2 separate regions of the Homo sapiens genome follow, and region 1 is linked to region 2. The links are contacts of gene promoters, found by promoter capture Hi-C in human tissues and cell types (Jung and others, 2019). All regions are on one chromosome and are shown on one strand. Each heading gives the region's core, a stretch centred on a gene start or on the middle of the fragment in contact. The rest is flanking DNA. Distances are from core to core; before and after follow the strand shown. Region 1 overlaps BPIFB4 (BPI fold containing family B member 4). Region 2 holds the start of BPIFB3 (BPI fold containing family B member 3).

Region 1 (3,016 bases), core at 80-2,579, 51 kb after region 2:
AATTCTGCTTTTCCAAGGGTCCAGAAATCTGAGATGCTCACATTCTAGCGTTGGGTCCTGTTTTATCTCTTTGTTCACTCTTGGGTGCCCCACCCCCACCTAAGGCTTCAGAAACACTCCTTCCTCCCCACCCCCCCACCTCCGCTTTTTATAAATTGACAACTAAGCATCTGCTAGCTTTCTGGGACAAGCTTGGATGAGATCTCCACATGTGCAGAAAAAGTCAAACCCATTCATTGTGTTGCTAATTTTATAGCTTTTCTAACCCAAAAAGCTACAGCCTGTGAAGCCGATCTTGCCAGCTTCATTTTATAAGGATAAACTGCCCAAGGCTTCCCAGCTGGTTGGGGCAGAGTTGGGATTAGAACTGAAATCTCTGGACTCCAAGTGAAGAAAGGGGCTGACAGTGTAAAATTAATGAATTAATGAAGCTATCGAGATGGGCCCTAGGCACTGAATTATGCTTTTTTTTCTCTTTTAATGAGGTTTTCTCATTTAATCCTTACCACCGTGTTATGATTTGGGTATTATTATTACACCCATTCTTCCAAATAAGGAAGGTAAGCTCAAGTGACTTGCCCAAGGCAACAGAGCTAGGAAGAGGCACTGCCGGAAAGTGAGTCCATGCCCTCACCCTCTGCAGACTGGAACATCAGGCATGTTACATATAGGGGCTTATGTCTGATTTTTATAACCACCCTATGAGGCAAGGGTTACTCACTCCTGTTTTCAGATGTGGAAACCAAGGCTTAGAGAAGTTAAGGGAGGTAACATATGAAAAGGCTCAAGGCCAGGAGTTTTACGTGATCTACCCACCATCCTCACCGCATCCTTGCAAACTCAGCTCACTGACCCATTTTACAGCTGAGGAAGCTGAGGGTTAGAGAGGTGAAGGAGCCTGCCCAGAGGCCCACGGAGACTGAGCTGGGATGGGAACCTGGGGTGTTGGCTCCAGGGCCATTGGGACTTCTGTGATGCCATGACAGTGCCATCGGGGCCAGGCCACCCTGAAACCTGTGCTCTGTGCCTCCCAGGGGAGGAACTAGGCCTCCCTCAATCCCTGCTTCATAGGGGCCTTGGGCCACCACCCATGCTGGGCCTCAGTCTGCCCATCTGCACAATGTGCAAGTTGATGGGGGGCACCTTAAGGCTGCCGGTGAGAAATTCTGGGGTCTCAGGGGTTCTGACTGCCAGAACCTAGACTCTCCCAGAGCAGGTCTGTGTCTCCACCTTGAGCCAGGGGAGCAGACCCAAGGGGCCCTCTGGAGCTGAGCAAACCCCCTGCCCAGGCTCTGTCCTCCTTCTTCCTCTGCAGATTGGCCTCATGGAGGTGCTGGTGGAGAAGATTTTTGACCTGGCATTCATGCCCGCAATGAACGGTGAGAGCGGGTGCCTGTGCCTCTCTGGGAGCTTGTGGCTTGGGTACTGGGGGATACTGGCTTGTTGGGCATGCTGGATGTGCATCTATCCTACCTCAATAGTATTTCTGAGCACTTCCTTTGAAGCGTGTCGATGAAAGCCTCCAAATCCAAACGTGGCCCCCAAAGTTCCAGCACCTTCCTTATTTGCTTCTTTCTTGTTTGGCTGATTGTTTTATTTTTCTGATTATCTATGAAAATTCCGATTATGTATTAACATTGTGTGTGTGCAAGTTTTAGAAAATATAAAACAATTTAAAAAAAACTCACCTCGCAGAGGCAATGAATCTCAACATCTGAGCATATTTCCTTCTAAACTCTTTTTCTCCATTGTTTTCCCATATGATTGAGATCTTTCCTGACTCATATTTAAACATGTATTTATTTTTAATGATACAGGAACTACAGGAATACATTCTTATTGTGAAAAGTTCCATTGGCGCAGATACAGCTAAAGTTGCTCTTATCGACATCCCCAGCCTCCTTCCTAGCCCAGAATCTGCCCCCCTAGGGAACCACATCAAGTTAGGAGGTTTTCTTGCCCAACTTTATAAACAGAGTAGACTGAGCTTGCTTTGCTCTCTGGGGCGTCTCAGGAATGTTACTGGGAAGGCTGCTTGTTGAACTATGGGGGTCATTGGCTACTCACATACTGGGACTGGGAAACTGCCCAAGCCCTGGGGTCACTGGGCCCCAGACTCTCTCCCACTCCTGCTTCCTGGATGAGAAGACAAGGAGGGCTGGCACATCCCAGCCAATGTCATCAGCTACACCAGCGGGGGTTCTGTTGGAGCCATCTTGATGTCAAACAAACCCTTGTTCTGGGCCCTGTGGTCAGAGGAAGCCGAGTCTCACTGGTGGGGAAAGTGGTGGTTTCTCTGTGAGAGGATGGGGTCAGGGGCTGGGCTGGGCTGACCTGGGAGGGAAGAGACGGAGCGTCTTGCCTGGCTTAATCACTAAGAGTGGTGTGAACTTGGGGGCGAGTCTTTTAATCATACTGAAGTGCAATTCACCATTTTCAAAATGAGAGCTTGGACAAGGTCCATAGTCCCCAAAGTGAGCTCCGTAAAGCAGTCCCACAAAATACCCTGCAAAAAGCGTTCCATGGCCGAGCAAGTTTGGGAAGTGCTGAAGATACTCCTGCAGGGTAGATTCACAATGTCCTTAGCTTTTTGAAAAGTCCTGCTGGAATAGAGAAGTCTGTTAAATTTCACTTAATTTACTTCCCCCATCCACTCTTTCCTACCCCACTTCTTTTTCTCTCTTCCTGCTCTCTTTCTAGAACAGTAATTAGCAGGTTTACTTAGGCTCTGACAATCTGAAAACAAACAGCACATCCCACGGCAGAGTCAATGGCTAGGGCTCCACGTGCACTTTCCATTACTTCACTCGGCAAACATTTGCCATCTCCTCTATGACTGGGCGAAGGGCTGGGTGATGCTGGGGACACAGCTCTTTTCTTTCTTTTTTTTTTTTTTGAGATGGAGTCTCACTCTGTGGCCCAGGCTAGAGTACAGTGGCACGATCTCGGCTCACTGCAACCTCTGCCTCCCAGGTTCAAGAGACTCCCCTGCCTCAGCCTCCCGAGTACCTGGGAT
Region 2 (2,983 bases), core at 61-2,560:
TTTTTATTTTTTTTGAGGCAGAGTCCCTCACTGTCACCCAGGCTGGAGTGTGATCTCAGCTCACTGCAAGCTCCGCCTCCTGGGTTCACGCCATTCTCCTCTCTCAGCCTCCCAAATAGCTGGGACTACAGGCTCCTGCCACCACACCCAGCTAATTTTTGTATTTTTAGTAGAGACGGAGTTTCACCATGTTGGTCAGGTTGGTCTTGAACTCCTGACCTTGTGATCTGCCTGCCTCGGCCTCCCAAAGTGCTGGGTTTACAGGCGTGAGCCACCGCGCCCAGCCCCAACTTACTGTATTATGTGCTTATTTGTCCCTTTCAGAGCTGTGCTTTCCAATATGACAGCCAATAGCCATACAAGGCGATTGCCTGAAGTGCGACAAGTCCAAATCTTGGTGTGCTGTAAGCAGATTTTGAAAACTTAGTATGAGAAAAAGAAAGTAAAGTACCCCATTCATAATTTTCTGTTGGTTATATGTTAAATGAGAATATTTTGGATTTGGTGGGGGTAAATAAACTAGACTATTATAATTAATTTCACCTGTTTCTTTTTGCCTTTCAAAAAATGTGGCTACTAGAAAGTTTTAAATTGCATTGCATTTCCACTAGTCGGCTCCTTCAGGGCAGGGGAGATTGTCTCTTTTATTTACAGCGATTTCCCCAGCATCTAGCAGACAGTGGGTGCCTCACAAATGCCTGCAGTGGAGTGAATGAATGGACGCATTTCTCGTCGCTGTCATCTGCACCAGCCTCGGAAAGGGGACAAAGCTCTGGAACTCTGGGGATACTGAGCCTTGGGAGGTGGGGGTGGAGTTGATGCCCCTCCCCCAAGTGTGCCCAGAGTCCCTGTCTCCAGGCCCATAGCCCTCTCCATGTGAGGCCTGGTGCGGGGGGAGGGTGGCGGAAGGTAGAAGACCCAGCAGCTTTAAGTCCCTTCTTTCCCTCCGTAGGCCTTCGCTGGGGAAGGGGTGGGGTAGGCAGGGTAGATTCTGTGCCATTGGAATGGCTCTTGGGGAGCCTTGGAGGGAGCCCAATAGGTGGCTGAATGGGTAGGTGGCAGGGCCCCACACCTCACCCCTGGCTCTGAGGGAGGTGGCTGCCTGTGCAGCCCCCACGCCTTCACTCCCACTCCTGGGCACCGACCCCAGTCCCCTTACTCGCCTCCAAGGAGGAAGGCTTAGCCCAGGCCCTCGGGGAAAACCGCAATTTGCTTCTGACATGACATATTGACGGGATTCTGGCGGCCGTGGCCCCTTTGTGTCCTCAGAGCCGCGTGGGCATATAAGGGCCACCCCTCAGCTCGCGTGGGTGGAGGAACCGACAGGAGGCCGGGAGCCCCCACCTACCCCTTGTGGAGCTGCAGGAGCAAGGGTAAGACAGCCTGAGGCAGCCCTGCTCTTGTCCTGACGCCCAGCCGTTGACCCCACTGCCTTCTGCCCTCCCATATGAATGATGGGCACGGAAAGAACTCACCCTAGGAGGAGACTGGGGGTACCAAGAGGGTGGATGAAGAGAAAAACCATGTTACAGATCTGGGGCCCAGAGAGAGGCAAAGACTTGTATATATTCACAGCCGGAGGGGTGGGCAGGGGATCCCTGTCCATAGGATGATCCTATGGAGAGAGTTCCAGGAGTGCCCATTTTTCTCCTGGCCAGTGACATGCTGCTGAATTTCTATCCCCTGCCCCCTCAGCAGGGACCCCTTCTGACACACAACCACGCACAGAGGCCTTAGACATGGTCCCTGCCTTCATGGAGTTTACAGGGAAGAGAAATAAGGACACAAACAGATGCATAATTGCAAATGGAGATCAGCACCTTAAAGTAAATATTCTGCGTGATGTTTAGTGACAGACGGATTTCTTTAGACAAAGTGAAGGACGGAGGCCTCTCCAGGGAGGCAATGTTTATCCGGAATCTCAATGATAAGGAGTCAGCCATGCAAAGAAGCAGGGAGGAGCCTTCCTAACAAGGAACCGCATGTGCAAAGGCCCTGGGGTGGGAAGGGGCCTGGCATGTTTAAGCTCAAGGAGGTCAAAAAGGCAGGCAGGGATTTTGTGGGTAATGGCAAGAAGCCTGGGTTTCAACCCAGGGCAGCGGGGAGCCACTGAAGGGTTTAAGCAGGAGTGATGGGTGGGCATAGATGGATATGTGATTGGGTGGGCAAATACGGAACTGCTTAAAGAAAAATCCCACTCTGTGAACTTAGCAGATTAGCCATGCCCCCACCTGCCACCCCATTCCCTTTTTCAACAAGATTTGGGGTGGAGGTGGGGGAAGGAGAAAGATAAGACATGTTAAGTCTAAGTGTTGGGTGTCCCCAGTCAGCTAGACCTTCTGAAACAGCCTCATGAGCCAGTGGGAAGCAGCTGCTGGAAACAAAGCTCTCATCCTGCTGTCCTGGAGGGGGAAGCCCCTCTGTCTGCAGCTGTCACTCCAGACACCCGGCCAGGCTCACTGGGCCTCTGAGGATGAAGATTTTTATGTCAGATGGACTCAGGCTTGAATTCTGACTGTCTCTGATTAGTTCTGTGGCCTTGGTCTAGTCCCCTACCCCTTTCGGTCTCAGTTTTCCCAGCTGAGAAATGGAACCCAATGAGGGAGAGGCTTGGAAAGTGCCTTGGAGACTTGAGTGCATTGGCAGCTGCACCGTGCCACCTGCGTGTTAGCTCTGCTTACATTTGGGAGGAGAAGGCTTTCCTGGGAGTGAAGCTCAATTTGGGCTGTGCCAGGTGGGCAGGAAGGGGGAAGGCTGATAATGGGAACAGAGAGGGGAAAGGCTTGAGCAGGAGAAGGGTCTCAGAGTTCCTCCTTCTGCTCCTTATAGGCATGCAGCCAGTCATGCTGGCCCTGTGGTCCCTGCTTCTGCTCTGGGGCCTGGCGACTCCATGCCAGGAGCTGCTAGAGACGGTGGGCACGCTCGCTCGGATTGACAAGGATGAACTCGGCAAAGGTGAGCCCCAGGTGGGCAGTCTGTGAGG

What was found. Contacts are between HindIII fragments. The study calls those that stand out against the background at their distance.
Region 1: a contact is called between a fragment that was not itself captured here and the fragment with the promoter of BPIFB3 in region 2, in 1 of the 25 tissues and cell types used here (neural progenitor cells).

The regions. Positions count from the first base shown.
Region 1 is chr20:33,103,495-33,106,510 of GRCh38, forward strand. It overlaps BPIFB4 (BPI fold containing family B member 4), which reads left to right. Exons shown (of 18, transcript NM_182519.3): 16 at 1,316-1,379. Among named protein-coding and RNA genes, the nearest start is that of BPIFB4, 25 kb to the left of the region's middle. The HindIII fragment of the contact is 8,468 bases long and covers 1-3,016 here.
Region 2 is chr20:33,052,593-33,055,575 of GRCh38, forward strand. It overlaps BPIFB3 (BPI fold containing family B member 3), which reads left to right and starts at 1,311. Exons shown (of 16, transcript NM_001376932.3): 1 at 1,311-1,373; 2 at 2,830-2,955. The coding sequence starts at 2,844. RefSeq lists enhancers at 597-1,131, 1,132-1,665. The HindIII fragment of the contact is 12,456 bases long and covers 1-2,983 here.